2 separate regions of the Homo sapiens genome follow, and region 1 is linked to region 2. The links are contacts of gene promoters, found by promoter capture Hi-C in blood cells and fetal thymus (Javierre and others, 2016). All regions are on one chromosome and are shown on one strand. Each heading gives the region's core, a stretch centred on a gene start or on the middle of the fragment in contact. The rest is flanking DNA. Distances are from core to core; before and after follow the strand shown. Region 1 overlaps RFXANK (regulatory factor X associated ankyrin containing protein). Region 2 holds the start of HAPLN4 (hyaluronan and proteoglycan link protein 4).

The links. The method cuts DNA at HindIII sites, captures the fragments that hold promoters and counts their contacts. A CHiCAGO score of 5 or more calls a contact.
Region 1: a fragment that was not itself captured here is called in contact with the fragment with the promoter of HAPLN4 in region 2 in 2 of 17 cell types (M1 macrophages and M0 macrophages); the score reaches 6.6 in M1 macrophages.

Annotation. Positions count from the first base shown.
Region 1 is chr19:19,196,591-19,201,871 of GRCh38, forward strand. It overlaps RFXANK (regulatory factor X associated ankyrin containing protein), which reads left to right. Exons shown (of 10, transcript NM_003721.4): 4 at 373-456; 5 at 596-661; 6 at 931-1,031; 7 at 1,517-1,642; 8 at 2,067-2,133; 9 at 2,564-2,644; 10 at 5,059-5,276. The coding sequence ends at 5,129. NR2C2AP (nuclear receptor 2C2 associated protein) reads right to left here. Exons shown (of 5, transcript NM_176880.6): 5 at 4,819-5,281. Among named protein-coding and RNA genes, the nearest start is that of NR2C2AP, 4.2 kb to the right of the region's middle. The HindIII fragment of the contact is 3,765 bases long and covers 1,928-5,281 here.
Region 2 is chr19:19,259,531-19,265,025 of GRCh38, forward strand. HAPLN4 (hyaluronan and proteoglycan link protein 4) reads right to left here and starts at 3,274. Exons shown (of 5, transcript NM_023002.3): 1 at 3,200-3,274; 2 at 1,916-2,033; 3 at 1,283-1,645. The coding sequence starts at 3,202. It overlaps TM6SF2 (transmembrane 6 superfamily member 2), which reads right to left. Exons shown (of 10, transcript NM_001001524.3): 10 at 4,836-5,343. The coding sequence ends at 5,134. The HindIII fragment of the contact is 10,345 bases long and covers 1-5,495 here.

The DNA of each region.
Region 1 (5,281 bases), core at 2,560-5,059, 62 kb before region 2:
GTGGTGGCTCATGCCTATAATCCCAGCACTTTGGGAGGCTGAGGCAGGTGGATGATTTGAGGTCAGGAGTTTGAAATTAGCCTGGCCAACATAGCGAAACCCCGTCTCTACTTAAAATACAAAAATTAGCCAGGTGTGGTGGTGGGCGCCTATGATCCCAGCTACTCGGGAGGCTGAGGCACAAGAATCGCTTGAACCCAGGAGGCAGAGGTTGCAGTGAGCCGAGATCACGCCACTGTACTCCAGCCTGGGGGACAGACGGAGACTCCATCTCAAACAACAACAGCAACAAAAAAAAACAGATGGGCTTCTGTCCTGAAGCCTCAGAGACATCTACTGAGGGGAAACTGACGCCTGTTGTCTGTTTCCCAGCAGGCAGCTCCCTGAAGCACTCCACCACTCTCACCAACCGGCAGCGAGGGAACGAGGTGTCAGCTCTGCCGGCCACCCTAGACTGTGAGTGGGCCCACGGTCCCCAACAAGGAGAGGAGTAGGAGGGTGGGAGGGCCTGTGAGGAGCAATCGTGGACAGAGGGTAAACTGAGGCACAGAGAAGCAAGGGGATGAGTGAGGACTCTGCCTCTGTCCTGCCCCAGCCCTGTCCATCCACCAGCTCGCAGCACAGGGGGAGCTGGACCAGCTGAAGGAGCATTTGCGGAAAGGTGCGTGTCCACACACATGTGCTGGCATGTCTGCACCTGGCTGGTGTGTGCATATGGGTGTCCATACCCACTCATGACGTGACCTGTGAGTGTCCACGTGTATGATTGTATCTAACTGTGTGTGTGACCGTGTTCATGTATGTCCATCAACATACGCTCCCCCTCATTCCCCTGTCTAACCCCAGCCCCCCACCTCGTCCCCATTTGGCAGCACTGGGGATAGGGGGCAGGGGTGCAGCCTGGTGGTATTGCCCGCCTCCTCCTGCCAGGTGACAACCTCGTCAACAAGCCAGACGAGCGCGGCTTCACCCCCCTCATCTGGGCCTCCGCCTTTGGAGAGATTGAGACCGTTCGCTTCCTGCTGGAGTGGGTGCGTCCCAGCCCAGCTGGGCAGCTGGGGGGTTCCCGGGGGCCTTAGGGTGGGCTGGGGTTTTGGCTGTGTCTGCTGGCGCCTTGTCTTTGAGATGCGGCTGCTGGCTGGGTGCAGTGGCTCATGCCTGTAATCCCAGCACTTTGGGAGGCCGAGGCGGGTGGATCACTTGAGGTCAGGAGTTCAAGACCAGCCCGGCCAACATGGGTGAAACCCTGTCTCTACTAAAAAAATACAAAAATTAGCCAGGCGTCGTGGTGGGTGCCTGTAATCCCAGGTACTCTGGAGGCTGAGGTGGGAGAACTGTGTGAACCTGGGAGGCGGAGGTAGCAGTGAGCCGAGATTGCGCCACTGCACTCCAGCCTGGGCAACAGAGCAAGACTCTATCTCCAAAAAAAAAAAAAAAGATGCGGCTGCTGTGGGTACCCCAGGATTCCTGGTTATGCCCCAATCCATCCTACCACTGTCCCTTCTTCTCCCTGCAGGGTGCCGACCCCCACATCCTGGCAAAAGAGCGAGAGAGCGCCCTGTCGCTGGCCAGCACAGGCGGCTACACAGACATTGTGGGGCTGCTGCTGGAGCGTGACGTGGACATCAACATCTATGATTGGGTGAGGGACTGCCCATCCCCAGGACCTCTCAGCCTCCTGGCCTTCATTCCTGCCTCAAATGTTCACAGAGTACTTGAAAGGTGCAGGCCTGCTCTAGGTGCCGAGAACACGAGACAGCCCCATTCCCAGCCTCACAGAGCAGAGCTCCCCATGCAGGGAAGGCAGACATGGAAACAGGCAGCTGAGATGCAGTGAACTGCGCTGCGATGGCAGATGCACAGGTGGCTACAAGAGCCCCATGTGGGCAAGGGAAATCAGAGAGGTCTTCCTGGAGGAAGGTGTCTAAGCTTGAGACCCCAGAAAGTGAGATGGGCCCAGTGATGAGCAGGAGGAACCACGTTCAACTGGAGGCCAGAGAGTACAAGGCATTTTGAGAATGAGGAAGAGGTAAACCTTTGGTTTCTCCTGCCCCTACCCACGACAGAATGGAGGGACGCCACTGCTGTACGCTGTGCGCGGGAACCACGTGAAATGCGTTGAGGCCTTGCTGGGTGAGTGGGAGTCGGGAGTGGCCCTGGGGGCCCCAGCACTCCAGCGGGCCCTGCGGGAATCCTGAGGGCAGGGAGACGCCCAAGTGTTGCTTGAAGAGTTCTTGGAGCAGGTAGTCCCTGCCTGCTCTTCTCGGAGGATGGATCAGAGGGGAGGAGGTGGTAGGACCACACGGGAGTCGGGGTCTGGGTTTAGGATCTGGCCAAGAGGCTAAGCACCTCCATCCTCCATGGTTCAGAGACCCTTCAGCCACGTTCTTCAGTGGAGACCAAGATAGCAGAGGTTGGACCCTTGTCAAAGGCCACATGGGCAACGGGCAGACCCACGGCTGCATTGTGGGGAATGAGGGGTGCCATGGGATCTCCCAGGTCCCCAGACCCCATTCTGGACTCCCAGGCCCCACCCTCCAGCGCCCTCCCCTCTCCTTTGCAGCCCGAGGCGCTGACCTCACCACCGAAGCCGACTCTGGCTACACCCCGATGGACCTTGCCGTGGCCCTGGGATACCGGAAAGGTCAGCCTGAGACACACAGAGCAGGGGTGGGGTCCCTTCCATAGGCAGGGTGACCATAAAGGGGTACATGGGACACCCCTTCAGTGGTCATACGCCGGCAGCGAGAGTGTGTTGACAGGTGTTGAGCACTGCTGTGTATCCCGCCTGGGAACATCCCAGTCCTGGCTCCTGGGGCTCCACATGTGCTGGGGTAGGGAGGACAATGGGTGTCAGTGGCTGTGGCCATGATGGGGGACACATAGGCATGAGAGGCCGAAAGAGGGGCCTCTCATCAAAGAGCCCCAAAGTGGCCAACAGAAGTCAGAGAGGCTTCCTGGAGGAAGGTGTCTTAAGGTTGAGACCCCGAGAAGTGAGGTGGGCCCAGCCCTGGGATGGGGAGGTCAGGGAAGGATTCTGGGGGACCTGAAGGGAGGGAGAATGGCATCCAGGTGGGAGGAGTGGCCCCTGCGGAGGCCTGGCAGTGAGGACACCAAGGGGTAGGCGACCAGGCCATAGTGCACAGAGCCACAGAGGCCATCCCTCTCCGTGGCGGGCAGTGGGTTTGAACAGGGGCCATAGGCAGACCCCAGTTTGACTCCATTTTCTCTGTCACAATGGGACCCCAACTTCCCCATCCATAAAATGGGGAGATCCCAATTGAACCGACCCCCTGGGGTCATGGTAGAGATGGGGTGCTTAGGAAATATCCCCCTCCTTCCTTCAGAGTTTTACTGTGTTTGGGACAGAAATCATTCCTCTTCCCTCCTCATGTTTTCGGGGGGTTTGTTTTTTTGTTCGAGGCAGAAAGTCTTGCTCTATCACCCAGGCTGGAATGAAGTGGTGCAGGCACAGCTTACTGCAGCCTCGATCTCCCAGGCTCAAGTGATCCTCCCACCACAGCCTCCCGAGTAGCTGGGACCACAGGCATTCGTCACCATGCCTGGCTAATTTTTTGTTGTTGCTTTTTTTTTTTTTTTTTTTGGACATGGAGTCTCGCGCTGTCACCCAGGCTGGAGTGCAATGGCGCCATCTCGGCTCACTGCAACTTCCACCTCCCAGGTTCAAGCGATTCTCCTGCCTCAGCCTCCTGAGTAGCTGGGACCACAGGTGCACACCATGACGCCCGGCTAATTTTTATATTTTTAGTAGAGACGGGGTTTCACCATGTTGGTCAGGCTGGTCTTGAACTCCTGACCTTGTGATCCGCCTGTGTTGGCCTCCCAAAGTGCTGGGATTACAGGTGTGAGCCACCACGCCTGGCTGTGTTGTTGTTTTTTTAGAAGAGACAGGGTCTCGCTATGTTGCCCAGGCTGGTCTCAAACTCCTGGGCTCAAGTGATCCTTCTTCCCCAGCCTCCTGAGTAGCTGGGACTACAGGCATGTACCACTCTACCCAGCTAATTTTTAAAATCTTTTTTATTTATTTTTTGAGACAGAGTCTCGCTCTGTCACCCAGGCTGGAGTGCAGTGGCACAATCTCGGCTCACTGCAACCTCTGCCTCCCAGGCAAACAATTCTCCTGCCTCAGCCTCCTGAATAGCTGGGATTACAAGTGCCTGCCACCACACCTGGCTAATTTTTTTTTTTTTTTTTTTTTTTTTTTGAGATGGAGTTTCGCTCTTGTTGCCCAGGCTGGAGTGCTATGGCGTGATCTCGGCTCACTGCAACTTCCGCCTCCCAGGTTCAAGCAATTCTCCTGCCTCAGCCTCCCAAGTAGCTGGGATTACAGGCATGCACCACCATGCCCAACTAATTTTTTGCATTTTTAGTAGAGTCAGGGTTTCTCCATGTTGGTCAGGTGATCTCAAACTCCCGACCTCAGGTGATCCACCCGCCTCAGCTTCCCAAAGTGCTGGGATTACAGGCATGAGCCACCACACCCGGCTGCACCTGGCTAATTTTTGTAGTTTTAGTAGAGATGGGGTTTCATCATGTTGGTCAGGCTGGCCTTTCCTGACTTCAAGTGATCCACCTACCTTGGCCTCCCAAAGTGCTAGGATTACAGGTGTGAGCCACCAAGCCCAGCCTAATTTTTAAATTTTTTTGGTAGAGACAGCGTTTTGCTCTGTTGCCCAAGCTGGCCTCAAATTCCTGAGCTCAAGCAGTCCTCCCCACTGGACCTCCCAAAGTGCTGGGATTATAGGTGTGAGCCACCATGCCCAGGCTCATCTTTTCATGAAAGTCACAATTCACACATTTTGCTTGGTAGGAAATATTTTTATATTAATTCTGAAAAGCTACAAAAGTGCATTTTTACAAACTTAGGGGAAGTTGAGGTTCCTGGGGTGAGTCCTCGGTTCTCCCAGCTTTGCTCTGTAATGCAGGTCTCTGCAAGGGTCCCTGTTTGTCCCCTAAGGGGAGAGCGCAGGTTGGCCTGTGCCTCCACCCCACTCCCGATTCAAGCTCACAGCCCACCTTTTCCCTGCCCCATCTCAGTGCAACAGGTGATCGAGAACCACATCCTCAAGCTCTTCCAGAGCAACCTGGTGCCCGCTGACCCTGAGTGAAGGCCGCCTGCCGGGGACTCAGACACTCAGGGAACAAAATGGTCAGCCAGAGCTGGGGAAACCCAGAACTGACTTCAAAGGCAGCTTCTGGACAGGTGGTGGGAGGGGACCCTTCCCAAGAGGAACCAATAAACCTTCTGTGCAGAATGAGG
Region 2 (5,495 bases), core at 2,024-4,523:
TGACAGACTGGGGATTGAATCCTGTCTCTGCCACCAACTAGCACTGTCCTGGGCAAGGCTCTAACCTCTCTGAGCCTGTTGTCCATCTGCTGGTAATAGCTGTCTCCCTTGGGGTTTTTAGGAAATTAAATTAGAGACTCCTGAGAACTCTTCAACTAAGCACCTGCCACAGAAAATGTCCAGTAAAGGAGAGCTGCTGCTATTATTGTTGTTATTTGTTATTGTTAGGGAGGTCAGCAAGCAAGGGCCCTGAAATCTCACCTAGAATCTTCTAAAGAGAACTGGAAAAGGCCAATCAAATGGGAGGGAATTCTTCAAATAGAAACCCCACCTCCCAGCTCCAGGGTGAGCCAATCAGAGCATCCCATCTTCCAGCTACAGTGATTGGCTCACAGTTGGGCACATGACTCAAGCTGAGCCAGTGAGGGACAACTCTGGGACTCTAGCTGCTGCTCCTAGGAAATCAGTTGCTAAGCAGGGAAGTGAAAGCCTAGGCACTGTGGTCTTGGTTCCAGAAAGAGAAGCCTGTCGGAAGAAAGCCTACCTGGGAAGCAGAGCAGAAGGATGGTTCCTGACACGGTGTGAGTGCCTGGATCTCACTGTGCCTGAATCCTATCCCAGGACTTCTCAGTGTCCTCATTGTGGACATTTTGGACTGGATCACTTTTATTTTATTTTATTTATGTATTTATTTATTTATTTTTGAGATGGAGTCTCGCTCTGTCGCCCAGGCTGGAGTGCAGTGGCACGATCTCCACTCACCGCAACCTCCACCTCCCGGGTTCAAGAGATTTTCCTGCCTCAGCCTCCCAAGTAGCTAGAATTACAGGAATGCACCACCATGCCTGGCTAATTTTTGTATTTTTACTAGAGATGGGGTTTTGGCATGTTGGCCAGGCTGGTCTTGAACTCCTGACCTCAGGTGATCCGCCTGCCTCAACCTCCCAAAGTGCTGGGATTACAGTCGTGAGCCACCATGCCCGGCCTGGATCACTCCTTGTGGGGGACTATCCTGTGCCTGGTAGGATGTATAGCTGCATCCCTGGCCTCTACCCACTAGGGGCTAGTAGCAACTGCCTTCTCCAGATGTGACAACGTAAAATATCTCCAGACATCGCCAATGTCCCTGGGGAGGAAAATCACCCAGAACCAGATATGGGGGCTCTACCCCAACCAACCTTCTAAATGCCTGCAGGCCAACTTGATTTGGTTTATGTCCCTTGCCATCCCCGCCCCCCTCCTTCCTCAGAAGCAAGGTTTATCCTCCCCACCGGCTGATCACCTTCCAGGTCCAGCTTGACCATGCCAGCGTCATCTTCCAGCTCATTGGTGACTTCGCACTCATAGCGCCCGTAGTCTTGCAGCGTGACGTTGCGGAGGACCAGGGAGGCATCCCCAGGCCCGTCGCCCTGCAGCTCAGCCCGCCCACGGTAGCTGCCGAATGCCCGGTGCTGGGGGCCTAGTGCCACGAAGACGTCGGTGAAGGCCAGCGGGTCCACCACCTTTGTCCACTTGAGCCGGACGCCGTCGTGACCGTGGGCGGCTGCCTCATAGTGGTAGCGGCAGGGCAAGACGATGGTGCCACCACGGTGGCTTACCACCTGCCCAGGCGCTGTCTGTACCACTACCGAGCCCGACTCACCCTCTGAGGACAACCAAGCAGGGTTCAGAGGAGGGGCCTAGGGGCAGAAGGGGGCCTCTGGGGAAGGTGTCTCTGGGGAGGGGAACGTGGGAAGACTCGGGTGGGGGTCGGGGAATCAGAAGGGTCCAGGGGCTCAGGGAGAGGGCGAGGGGCTCAGATGGGGAGTGGCTGGGGGAACCGCGGACGTCAGGAACGCCCTACCCGCTACCCCTCTCCGCACTTGGCCACTTCTGCTTTTCGCGGAGAAGACCACTTTTAGCGGCCCTGACTCACCCAGCACGTGCACGACCTTCTTCCGGCCACGCTGCGCCCCCGCAGGGGCTGTGAGCAGCAGGACGCCCCAGGCCGCGGCCCAGAGCGCGCCGGGACCGAGGGCCGCCCGAGCGCACACCTGGGGGGCGGGCACGGGGCGCTCAGTCCAGCCTCCCAGCCTTGGCTTTTCGGAGGCCTGGCTCCCTCCCGGGCCTGCCTTCCCCACAGCGAGGACCTCTCTCACGCCCATGTCCCCACCCTTTCCGGGGTCCTGGAGAACTCCCCCTCCTCCTCTTGGGACCTCACATCCTAGCTTCTGCAAGAACCCACGCCCCTAGACTCCCCCCCGCCCTCAGTCCTGCCCCAGATCCCGCCTCATTCCCCCCCACCCCAAAACCCGAGGCTCGCTGCCCCGCCCCCTTCTGGCCCTGGCCCGGGCCGGGGATAGGGGGGTGGGGAAGAGCTGGAGGAGCGGCGGCAGCAAGGTTATCCGTGCGCCAGGAGACTGCAGCAAACCGGGCCGGGGCGGGCAGGGAGGGGGGAGAGCTGGAGAGAAAGAGGGAGAGACGCGGGGAGAGAACAGGGACAGAGAGAAAGGCAGGGAGAGGCAGAGAAGAGAGTGCGCGACACAGAAAAAGGGGAAGGGAAGAGAGAGAGGCAGAGATGGAGAGGGAGAGACAGATGGAAAAGAAGAGACAGATGTAGAGGGAGAGACAGAGATGGAGAGGGAGAGACAGAGAGGCAGAGGGAGAGACAGAGGGGCAGAGGAAGATACAGAGATGGAGAGGGAAAGACAGAGATGGAAAGGGAGAGACAGAGAGGAAGAGACAGAGAAGCAGAGGGAGAGAGAGAGAGGCAGAGGAAGAGACAGAGATGGAGAGGGAGAGACACAGATGGAGAGGGAGAGACAGAGAGGCAGAGGGAGACAGAGAGGCAGAGGGAGAGACAGAGAGGCAGAGGGAGCGACAGAGAGGGAGAGGGAGAGACAGAAAGGGAGAGGGAGAGACAGGAGAGTGCCAGAGGCAGAGAGACTCAGAGAAGAGGAGGGAGAGATAGGGACAGGGAAAGACAGAAACGGAGAGGAGAGGAAAAAGGCAGAGAGGATGACAGAGATGGAGAGAGGCAGGGAGAAATGGAGAGGGAGAGAACCTAGAGTGCCAAAAAGAGAGATCAAAGAGGGTGAGAGACAGAGAAAAGGAAGAGACAGAAGAAACTCAGAGGGATATAGATTCAGAGGCAGAGAGATATAGAATCCAAGATTGGGGAGACGGGGCACACACCACCCGCGCCCGCAGCCCCACTTACCATCTTGCCCGCGCGGCCCCCGCCGAGCGGCCCCTACGCACCCGGACTGCGCTCCCCGCACACCCGGTTAAGACTGGGCAGGTCCCTGCAGGCGGCGCAATCCCGGCGTCTGCCTGCAAGGGGAGGAGGAAGGCGGGCGAGGCGGGGTGTATTAAAGGGGCCGCGGGGGCCCACGCTCCCCTGGAGCAGTGGCTGGAGCGCGGGCGGAGAAAGAAGCGCTCTGGACTTGGAGTGCAGAGCTAGTTCCCTCACCCTGCTAGCTGAACTTAGGCCAGGGAAGAACCTCTCTGAGCCTCAGTTTAACCATCTTTGAAATGGAGGAGGGGGCTGAGTCTTCTATCTTGGTTACTGTGCTTTGGCAGGGGACCTGGGGGATCTGGTGAAAGAGATCATTTGGCCTGCAGGCCACCTGTCCATTGGGTAGTCATAGTGGAGTCCTGGTCTCCAGCACCCCAAAGGCGCTCCCTGTGCAGGGTGGGGGCCTCACGATAGTCACACTCTGCTGTGGACTGGAGCCACAGGCCCCAATTCAAGTCTGCCCCTCACTGGCTGTGAGACCTTGGAGGAGACAGTTGGCCTCTCTGAGCCTGCTGCTGACTCTTTGGTGAAGATCCAGTAGCTAGACATACAGTAGATCTCCGGTAGGGGTTGGGAGGGGCAAGAAAAAGGGACATCTAGGCCGGGCGCGGTGGCTCACGTCTGTAATCCCAGCACTTTGTGAGGCCAAGATGGGAGGATCACCTGAGGTCAGGAGTGCGAGGCCAACCTGACCAACATGGAGAAACTCTGTCTCTACTAAAAATACAAAATTAGCCAGGTGTGGTGGCACATGCCTGTAATCCCAGCTACTCAGGGGGCTGAGGCAGGAGAATTGCTTGAACCCAGGAGGTGGAGGTTGTGGTGAGCCAAGATCGTGCCATTGCATATCAGCCGGGGCAACAAGAGTGAAAACTCCGTCTCAAAAAAAAAAAAAAAAAAGAAAAAGAAAAAGAAAGAAAGAAAAGGAAAAGGGACATCTGGTCAAGGTCCCTGACTTACTCCAGGCCCAAGTCGCCCCTAAACCTGGCCTTTCACCCAATTTCAAAAAATCAAACAATAGCAAACAGTGAGTCTTTCTCCTAACACCTTGGCTTCCTTCCAGGACTCAGTTTCCCCTAAAATGAGCCCAACCCGACCAGATAGGAGAGGCAGAGTTGTGGTTTCTGTGGTCCAACAGGCTGGGGCTCCATCTCTTAGCTCAGCCATGCCTTGGGGACTGAGCGGGGGAATGATCTCAGACCAGGACCTTCACCTCCTGCAGCCTTGGTTTCCCCATCTGGAATATGGAGTGAGATCCAGCATGTAGCAGTCAAGGTATACAGTAGGTGCTTAATAAATGTATCATGCTATTAGTTATGATTTATTGGTAGAGCAGGAACTTTTCTCTCTGGCCATGACCTTGGGCAGGTCTCTTGTCCATACTGAGCCTCGGTTTTCCCATCTGGAAGATGAGCCGTGCATACCAACCAGAGGCCGCCTTCTGCTATCCCAGCACCTCTCACTCCTGGCAACCACGATGGCAGTGATAGGTGGGCCCTCATGGGGGCCAAGAAGAGGATCCCTTGCCCCTGCACCCTGAAACACTTAGGCAGTGATATTTTGGAAATTGAAAGGGTTTTTACTGAAAGGATCCATGGGGGGATGATGGGTAAGTTCTGGAAGGGGTAGAAGCGTTTGTGTGGGAGTTGGAGCATGGTGACAGCTGTGGGAGGCTCTCCTTGCAGGAACACTTGGTCGTTGGTCTCCATCCCACCCACTGGACTGAAACTACCATAGCCAAGACTAAAGACACCCGGAGATGTCCCTCCTGTCTCTAAAACACCCAACCCCCGCTTCCCCAGGTAGGGCTGACTGGGCACGTAAACAGAGTCCTGGGTCCTGAGTCCACAGCTCTCTCAATGCTGCTTCTTGTGGAGGGCTAGGGGGTCGGAGGGTGGTGGCTGGTGGAAGAATGCGGGCCACTGAAGGCAACGGTAGGCCAGCAGGTGGGGGCCCAGCGCATACAGCAGATTGCACACGAAGAAGCAGCCCCAGGTGTCCTCAGGCACACGGTAGGTGAAGGGTGTGCGCAGGTGCATGGAAGCCCCCATGTGCGAGAACTGTGCCTGGTAGCCAGACAGGGAAGATGGATGTCAGGGGCCAGGAAGGAACTGAAATCCCAGCATCACCGACAGCCCCCCAGGTAGGTCAGGCAGAACCCAGGGGATGCCCATCCCCACCTCTCGGGCTTTGCTCATCTATCTGTTTCCCATCTCCA